Linked DNA regions of Homo sapiens: regions 1 and 3 are each linked to region 2. Evidence: promoter capture Hi-C in 16 types of primary human blood cells and fetal thymus (Javierre and others, 2016). All regions are on one chromosome and are shown on one strand. Each heading gives the region's core, a stretch centred on a gene start or on the middle of the fragment in contact. The rest is flanking DNA. Distances are from core to core; before and after follow the strand shown.

Region 1 (3,144 bases), core at 289-2,788, 690 kb before region 2:
CACTATAAAGACACAGGCACACGTATGTTTATTGTGGCACTATTCACAATAGCAAAGACTTGGAACCAACCCAAATGCACATCAATGATAGACTGGATAAAGAAAATGTGACACATATACACCATGGAATACTATGCAGCCATAAAAAAGGATGGGTTCATATCCTTTGCAGGGTCATGGATGAAGCTAGAAGCCATCATTCTCAGCCAACTATCACAAGAACAGAAAACCAAGCACTGCGTGTTTTCACTCATAAGTGGGAGTTGAACAATGAGAACACATGGCCACAGGGAGGGGAACATCACACACCAGCCCTTTCGGGGGGTGGGGGGCTAGGGGAGGGATAGCATTAAGAGAAATACCTAATGTAGGTGAAGGGTTGTTGGGTGCCGCAAACCACCATGGCGCTTGTATACCTTTGTAACAAAACTGCATGTTCTGCACATGCAACGCAGAACTTAAAGTATAATTGAAAAAAAAGAAAAAGAAACTAGACCACCCCTGGAGAGTGTTAAAAAAAATTCTTACATTCATTGATTATCTTCTTTAACAGAGTGGATCCTGGCCTTGGTTCTATGAACGTCCTGATGGGTTTGTTATACAAGTATGAAGGTCAGAACTGTAGAGATGTGAATTACTGTTAAGATGTTTTAGGCTGAAAAAAGGAAAACAATGCCCCAAATGAGCTTAAGGATTAAGTAAAGTATTATCTCATAAGAGGAAGGTTAGTGGTTGAAAGACTTCAGAGTTTGTTGATTCAGGAGTCAAGGAATGTGGTTGTATTAATCAGGTTGAGTAATGATATGTGCTATAACAACAAATTAGTCCTGAGATCTCAGTGGTTTAACACACAAAAAGACACTAGTCATTCATGTAATCATTTAATGGAAATAGAGGCCTCTACTACATTCAAGAACTTTGGCTTCTTCTATGTGATAGCTCTGTCATCTTCAATATGGCTTCACAATCACCCTATCATCATTCAGCCTGCAGATGGGGAAAGAGCAAGGATAGGGAGGATGAACCAGGCCATTTTAAAGGCCAGGCCTAGAAGCTGTAAACATTACTTTCATACACAATCCATTGGTCAGGACTCAATTTTCTGGTAATGCCTGACTTCAGGGGAGGGGGCAGGGTGGCTGTTAACTGTAGTTTATTCTGTGCTCAGGAGAAAAATAAAATGGGTTTGGTGAATTCATTGTCTCTATCTCCTGAGCTTTTTCTCCTTTTCTGCTCTGTCATTTTCAAAGTCACTCCTTCTCTTCTGGTAGCAAGATGGCTGCAGCAGTTCCAGGTGCCCTATCCAACTACCACAGCTGAGAGAAGAAAAGAAATAATTTCTTATTTGTGTGTCTCCCATGAATGAGGAAACTTTTCCCAGAAGCCCCCAGCAAATCTTCCCTTATGTTTCATTGGCCGGATTTGGATCACATGCTTTTTTCTGTAGCAATCCCTGAAAGGGAAATGGGATTGCTGTTTGACAAGTCAAACCTGTCCCTGAGGCTGGTAAGGGGCAATGTCCTCTGGAGCACACAGTTGTTTGTACATGTGAATCTCTAAAAAATTTCAGGGTTCTGTTAGGATGCAAGAGGGAAGTGTTGTCTGGTATCCATGCAGCAGGGTCTGGTGTAGTTACTGTATGTACTCAGGAGGAACTAAGTTGGTTTCTCTGGGCACTGAGTGAGGAGGACTGTGAGGAGAAAGACGGGTGATGTGGCAGGAGATCTGAGGTGACTGCTCTCTCAGTTCCGTGTCCTTCAATACATTCTTCCTCTTTCTCAGACTGCTTTTGTACAAACTGGCAAGGGGCTGAATTTCTTATCTAGGTTGACAAGGAGGGAAAAGGAACAAATGCAGGAGCTAGGGATAGAGGAGATCTAGGGAAGTGGTAGAAGCCATTGGGAGGGCAGTGTAGTTGGGTTTTAGCCAAGTTAATCTACATTGCAGGTTGCAGACAGGTTGCACACATCACAGGTGGTTGCAGACAGGGCCTCAGCAACCACCTGGGTAACAAGATGGCAGCCACAGACTGTGTGGATTTTAACCTGATAGCATCATTCTTCCAGAAATTGTAAGTAACACTGAGAACAAAACCTTGGGGCTGGGTGAATTCTTTGGTTAGTTTAATTAATGTACCATTTGCTAACCACAAAACACATGCTGATTTTGACTTCTTCCCTTTGTGTTGACAAAAGAAGACATGGAAGTCAAGAAATAGAAGACCGTCTGGGAGAGTGAGATCCTAGAAGTATGGATGGGAACTGGGCTAGGTGAAGTGTGATTTACTTCCTAGGAAGTGATGCAAAGATTTCTCAGTCACAAAGTTTTCCATGATGAAAATGACCCATAGTCATCCAGTGAAAAGGTGACAGTCTGAAAGTCTACCCAGTGAATGTCCCAAAGGCTTTGAATGCTGTGCCCATGGGTGACCAGAGCATATTCCCTGGGAAGTGACACAGAGGTTCAGAGCATTGCCTCTGGGGTGAGACAGTCCTGGGTCTCAAGTTTCGTCCTCTTTCCTAGCTCCTTGATCTGAAGTAGCTGTCTTAACCTCTTTAGACTCAGTTTCCCATTGGCAATATACATTAGGGTCATTGTGCAGCTTGTAAGAGATATTTAACGTAAAAGTGATTGGTAGAGTCCCTAGATGGCAGAAAATGCCTAATAAATTCTAGCTATTCTTTCTCCTGAAATTTTAGTCTGTAACACAGCAGCTATGGTGGCAGAAACTGAGATGCACTTTGTGGATGACAGAAAGGTGAATAAAAGTGCATGCATGGGACTTTGGAAGAAGGTAGTCTCAAATGCCTTTTTAAGAGAGATTATATTGTCACTTCTCTGACAGTGTGGAAGATAAAACTGAGGGTGCAGCACTCTTCTTGGGAGGAAGAGCCCTGCTTTGACCTTGACATCTGTTGGTGCATTTAGCAAAACTTATTTTAAACAACTCCTAAGAATTTTATTCAATGTAAAACTTCTATATGTATCTGGATGGAAATACTGATCTACCCTTGATTCATTTTATCCATCACCTATCTTACCTTATCCCACCTCACACTATATCTTATCTTATCTTATCTTATCTTATCCATCTAGTCTTGTCTTGTCTTTCTGTCTGTCTGTCTGTCTATCTGTTTCATACAT
Region 2 (3,231 bases), core at 335-2,834:
CTAAATATCGTTACCTGTTTTCTTAAAATCTGAAATGGAGAGAAAATTACCATTCAGCAGAATACATTTGGGTGTGATTCTTGATAGTAAATTTCCATTAATAGTCTCAAAGAAAGTTGAATGTTGCTACAGGTTAATTGGAAAATAATTTTTTCAAGTTTGAAAGGTCATGATTCTATTATTTAAGAAGACTTCCTCTTAGGAATATGGCTTTAATGTATGTTAAGCTTATTTTCTCAACACCAGACCAAAAAATGGAGGCTGAGCTATCACAAAAATTTGGAAATAATTTTTAATAGCTAAGTGTAATAATATACCATTCTTTCCAAATGTTGCCTTTAGTTTCTGGCTGTCAAAACCTTAATCAAGACAATAATTCTTGGCCTGGCCATAAGTGAGATTATGAAACCCAGCAATGAGGAAACCATTAAAAAATTAATTTAGAGGAAAGTTAATTGCAGATTTAATATGGTGTTTTGCAAGTTGGTCAGCAAAATGTTTCAACATGATTAACAATATTTTTCAAGGGCTGAAAACATTAAGCCCGAGGAAATGGTTTTTCCTGTCAGCTTTTATTCTTCATATATTCATCTGAGGTTGTAAATAGACACAAATTCTTTAGTGAATTCTGTGGTTAAAAAAATATCGCCTTATCTCCATGAATAGGAGCAAGAAAAGGAAGAGACTGGAGAAAATAATTCTACTTATAAAGTCCTAAAATCTTCAGTGGTTTACTTCTCCTTGGGTTATATTTTTAATCTGCCAAGAAATTCTTCTTGTACAACACTGTCTCTCCAGTTTTCATGAGTCTCAAATCCTCCAGGATAGAAATCATTTCAAGTTTTCATTTCTCATGGCAGCACTATTTCCAGGTTGTGCTAAATGATTCATAATGATTTTTATTAACCTCTTCAATCCTCTAAGAATTACATTAACTTGAGGGATTCCTCCAAACTTGAGCACCTTCCTCACTCTCCAGCGTGGATAAGATAAGCAGTGAGTTTCCAGGTTTAAGACATGATCTAGGATCCCTTTCATTGCAAATTAGAAAGCGATGTGATAGCTATGAAAGTCATTGGATTAGGAGTGCATTCCCCTCCTCTGTGACCCTCGACACCCCCCGCCCCCCCAAAAAATAAATGAGCCGAAGCTCCCACTTACGTTCTCTGTCTTCTTAGTGCTCTGTGTCCTGTGGCCGAGGCGTACAGCAGAGGCATGTGGGCTGTCAGATCGGAACACACAAAATAGCCAGAGAGACCGAGTGCAACCCATACACCAGACCGGAGTCGGAACGCGACTGCCAAGGCCCACGGTGTCCCCTCTACACTTGGAGGGCAGAGGAATGGCAAGAAGTAAGTAGAGCCACAAAGGGGTACCTGCCAGGCATTTCACGTGTGCGCCCCTTGCTATCCTCACATCTGTTCCCTATAAAGCCAGAGAAGTCACCGAGCACGGTTACAATGCTGGCTCTTTCCCAAAAGGTTCACTGTCAGACTCGCGCATTCGCTCCAACAAGGGTGGGAGAACTTCTTGTTTTTAAGCAATTCCTACGTCTGTCTGTATTCCTGAGTGTTCCAAGTCTGGCCGCCTCAAAAAAAAAAAAAAAAACTTTAACAGGCTGTGGGCCGAATGCATTCAGATATCTTTCACAGAAGGAGGGGGAGATAGAAGGAATATTTTAAATACGTGTCTCCAGATTTGGTCATTCTGTATCTGTTTAAATAGCCGCAGGGCAGACTTTAGGTAGAACCTACTCTGTATTTTTCCTCTTTCTATGACTTTGGCTGTCAGGTAGAAGATAGGCATTCATGTGAAACCTTGATTAATTAGTGAAAGATTTCTAACATTTAAAAAAAAAAAAAAAGGATGGTATCTGAAGAAACTGCTCCGTTGATGGTCCGTGCAGAAGTGGACAGGCCTTGCTTTTTCCCTGGCTTCAAGTTAATGTTTGGTTAAGGAAAACATTGTGTCCATGGGGAAAAGTTTGGCCAGGGAGGTTTTATAGGAGGTAACCTCTGTTTCCAGAACAGAAGATTAAACTGTAGAAAAGGGGGGGAAAGAATTAGAAAGCAAAACAATATCCACTGATGTTGGCATAAAAAACAAAATGCATGCTGCTTGAGGTGCAGAGATAATGAAAAATAAGGCAGGAAATTCCCCACCATGAAGAGTTTTTCAGAACATAAAGAAAGGGTATGGTTTGGAGAACAGTTAGACTGTACCCCTGGCACTGTGCTGGGTACTTTTTGTTCATTGCTTCCCTTAATCTTTTTAACCACCAGACAAGGTGAGCATTATTATTATTATCATCATCCCATTTTGCAGGTGAAAAAACTGAGGTTCACAGAATCTGTGTCATTTGTCCAAGTGTCACATACCTAGCACCTAGCAAGTGGAAGAAGCAAGACTTCATGCTAAGCTTGTTCTCTTAAACCATTAAGAAATACTAGAACTGCATTCTTTACCCCATTGGGATTCAGCCGCCCAGCCCTGTCTTCCTCTTCCCTCGCCTCCTCATGGATTACTTCCATTGGTTGCAGTAATTTCTTTTCTTTAGGAAACTCACCCTCTCCATCTACTCAGTCTTTTTCCTGTTTTCCTTCTTTACTTTTTTATTCCCACCAGACAGTGGCAGGGAGGAATGCCTAAAGCAGTTACATTTCAGATTAACAGCTCTTGAGCCACACCAGTTATTTGGAACCCTAGAGACTATAAAATTCTACAGACTTGGTTCATATCCTAGCACTGCCACACATTAGCCAAGGGAATTAGAACAAGGATTCTTGATTTCTCTGAGCCTTGGATTATCCATTTGTAGAATGGGGATAAAATAACTTTTCAGAGTTGTTCTGAGAAAACTGGAGGTAATAGTGTTATCTATTATGGTTTGGGGATTGGCAACGTCAGATATAGAAGGAAGAGGAGACTCCCTCATCTCTCTCGCTCTCCCCCTCAGTGTGACCTCTTGATTCTCTTTTTTTCAGACCTACCATGGCCTGCTCTCTCCATCTCCCTCTTTGTGTCACGCTAAACTCAACCCTGCTCCGAGGAGCGGAAAGTAAGAGAGTGTTCAGAAATGAATCTAAGCTGACTGCTTGTGCTTTAGCCAGCTTTTGAAAATGCTAGAGCCAATCACGAAAATGCACACTCTGTTTACAATTCCTTTTGCATCCCGAAGAATGGAAAAACCTTGCCACATATGCACTGAGGAAATTCCTCTTCTCTGATCAT
Region 3 (3,194 bases), core at 25-2,524, 620 kb before region 2:
TCCACAGGTGCCTGCGTACCAGGAGGCAGAGGTCGCTAGGAGCCCTGTCAGAGCTGCCGACCACATCTACATAAAGTAATATTCGAGGACATGGTGCTACTTCACTACGGAAAAGCTCTCTAAGCATTTTTTGCCTCCTACAGCCTTGCTGTTAGAAACTTCCATAAAGTATTAGAAATGTTTTCCTTCGATAGAAGACCATATGTCAGTGGAGATGTTTTTGTCATTTACTAATGCACTCAGTAACTTGATTAGAAAAGTGAACTGTGCAATACTGTATAATTTCAAATGCTTTTCTAGCAAAAATGTATTACCTTTAATTAGACTGATTTAAAGCTGTTAAGATTCTTGTCAGAAATAATTTTTAAGTGGATGTGTCAAGATAACAGCAGTTGTCAAGTGAAGCAAATGGTAATTTGTGCATGTGCTGTCTGGCTTATGAGCAACTGGGTCTTTAAATACTAGCTGAGTGTTTGTGCTTACAATCCCTTTTATAGCAGCCACTCTGGCAGTTAAGGATTCAAACTGTTGAAATGCTATTGTTTGTGGTAAATATTTGTCCTATGACTACGGAATTAAATTTGCTTCCTGCCCTGTAATACAGACAAAAGCACCACTAAGAAGGGAATGCATTTAAGCAATTCAATTTACCAATTGGTCCAGCACAGAACATAAGCAAAGCATTCTGGGTGATTACAGTGGAATAATGATAATCATAAAGACCATTCTTTGATGAAAGCAAACCAGGTGACTTGAAGCATTTGAAAAAACTTGAATTCTATCTTGCAATCTTTTTAGGTTATTCATTTCTTTAGCAAGCTTTTGTTATTGGGCAGTGGAAAGGCGGGCTTTTTCTTGACTTTGTGGCGGGGTTTCTTAGTAGTGTCACTATTGACTTTGGGGACATATAATTCTTTGTTGGAGGCAGGGGTTCTGTCCTGTGCACTGTAAGTTGTTTAGCACCATTTCTGGCTTCAACCCTCTGGATGCCAGTAGCTCTGTTCTTCCCCACCCCAACCCCAGTTTTGATAAATAAATATATTTCCAGACAATGCCAGACATACTCAAAGGTAGGGGGAAGAAGGGAAAATCACCATGCTATGGGAATCAACATAGCTTTTTGATATGGTTTGGCTTTGTGCCCCCACTGAAATCTTATCCTGAATTTGTAATCTCCAGGTGTTGAGGAAGAGACTTGGTGGGAAGTTATTGGATTATGGGGGCTGTTGCTTTCATGCTGTTCTCGTGATAGTGGGTAGATTCTCACGAGATCTGATGGTTTTATAAATGGTAGTTTTTCCTGAGAAGCTCTCACAGGCTCTTCTCTCTCCTGCCACCATGTGAAGAAGGTCCTTGCTTCCCCTTCCATCATGATTGTGTTTCTTGGGGCTTCCTCAGCCATGTGGGACTGTGAGTCAGTTAAACTTCTTTTCTTTATAAATTACTCAGTCTCGGGCAGTTCTTTATAGCAGTGTGAGAACGGACTAATACACTTTTGGCTTAGGAAATTCGAAATTAACAGGATTTAATATGTTAAATTTATAAATATTTTGTCTTTTCTGTTAGTCCTCCAAAGCATCCACATGCTATATAAGATTATATATTCTCTTATTGATTCAGTTAATAGGCATTTGTTAAGTGCTTACTACCTGCAAAAGACGTTACCCAGGTATTAGGGAGATAAGGAGAAAAACAGATATAGATTTTTGTTTTGTCTTGAAGAAGCTTGAGATGTGTGGCAGTGGGGCAGGGACTTAGGTCATTCATACACATAACAGTAATGCAAGTAGAAAGCACCAAGTTTGACCAAAGAGCTAAAATTTTCTGAAATGTAGATTTCAGAAATAATCTAATGTAATTATTTATAATGTAAATTATTTCCTTCTATTTCAGAAATTTCAGAAATAATGTAAATAGAAGGAAAGGAACTTCTATTTTTCTCTTGCAGGCAAGTGGTGGGTTAAAAGCTCAACCCTGAGCTGAATTTAATAGGGTGAGGTTGACCTGTAGTTTAGGCATATGAGAGTAGGTTTTGGGTTGGGACTGAAACTCCGGAATATAACATCAAGTCTAATGGGGCAAGGCAGGGAGATGGAAACCCAGCCTGAAGCCCATGGTTCTCAATTACAAGTAGCAAAATGGAGGCAGCACATTCAAGGGGACCAACAGAGACAGGCACTGGAGAAGGTCCCAGAAACACAGACAGCACCTGGTGCCTTTGGTAGGAAAACTGCTCATAGCTCCCTGGAGCAATGAGAGATGTAAAAGGGCTACACTAGTTTGATGAAAAGAGAGGCCTTTCAGTGGAACCAAAATGATTATTCTCCAATGTATAGTGCTCAGAAACTCAGCAGTGGTGTATGGAGAGCAAGTCCAAACCAAATAGAGGCCGCAGAAGACGAGATATCAAAAGGTTCTCTTTCCCAGTACCTACCACAGGCTGGCTGCTTGCCCAACATCTCCATCAGTAGAGTTCTGACGTTTGAGCCAGCCTTCTGAAAAAAGCAAAAATTCTCCCGGAGATGGTATTAGTAGCCACAAATCTCTTGGTGGTACAATTCTTGAAGTATATTCCTAAGACTTTTAATGGGTGTTATTGTGAAGAGTTCTATTCACAAGTGTGTTTTTGGAATGACAGGTAAAACAAGAGAAACATCTGCCTTCACTGTAAAAATTGTCAGTCTTTCAGGTACACTATAAACCTCAAATCGAGGGATATGATGGGAAGCCTTTCCCAGATTTATTTGACTACAAAGCTATTTCACTGTGTAGCATCTGTGCTTTGGTAACCCTGCCTTGTTGTGAATGAGTTTGTGAAATAAGTGGCTTTTGCCAACTCTCTGAACTTTAAGTGAATAGGGAGATTGCAGGGAAAATACATCAGCATGTGAGTATGCACAGACCCCTCCCTCCCTCACCTGCTATGAAAAACCTGACTTTGCCTGCCTGGCCCACCATTTCTCCTGCTCCACCTAATAGGTCGCTGGCTTGATCACCAACTTCTTGGTTTTTATTATTACAATCACTGTAAGTGGTGAGGTCTGGAAATTCTAGCTCATTACTCTAGAAAGGTCAAAGAGTAAATGGTAGGAGAAAATAAATAGAACTATTTAAGGGGAAATTAAAAGTGGGACTGTTTGGAGGGGGCGGGTGTCAGTATCTGAGCAGGCAGGTGAGTGGCCTTGAGAGCAGCC

The links. Contacts are between HindIII fragments. The CHiCAGO score rates a contact against its expected background, and 5 or more counts as called.
Region 1: a fragment that was not itself captured here is called in contact with the fragment with the promoter of ADAMTS9-AS1 in region 2 in 1 of 17 cell types (endothelial precursors); the score reaches 5.5 in endothelial precursors.
Region 3: a contact is called between a fragment that was not itself captured here and the fragment with the promoter of ADAMTS9-AS1 in region 2, in 1 of 17 cell types (endothelial precursors). The highest score is 5.4, in endothelial precursors.

The regions. Positions count from the first base shown.
Region 1 is chr3:65,250,120-65,253,263 of GRCh38, reverse strand. No RefSeq gene overlaps it. Among named protein-coding and RNA genes, the nearest start is that of LINC02040, 77 kb to the right of the region's middle. The HindIII fragment of the contact is 3,358 bases long and covers 1-3,144 here.
Region 2 is chr3:64,559,699-64,562,929 of GRCh38, reverse strand. ADAMTS9-AS1 (ADAMTS9 antisense RNA 1) reads right to left here and starts at 1,584. Exons shown (of 2, transcript NR_110151.1): 1 at 1,162-1,584. It overlaps ADAMTS9 (ADAM metallopeptidase with thrombospondin type 1 motif 9), which reads left to right. Exons shown (of 40, transcript NM_182920.2): 30 at 1,179-1,352. The HindIII fragment of the contact is 2,192 bases long and covers 230-2,421 here.
Region 3 is chr3:65,175,436-65,178,629 of GRCh38, reverse strand. All of the region lies in intron 1 of LINC02040 (long intergenic non-protein coding RNA 2040), which reads right to left. All of the region lies in intron 1 of LOC105377127 (a long non-coding RNA gene), which reads left to right. Among named protein-coding and RNA genes, the nearest start is that of LINC02040, 2.1 kb to the right of the region's middle. The HindIII fragment of the contact is 906 bases long and covers 822-1,727 here.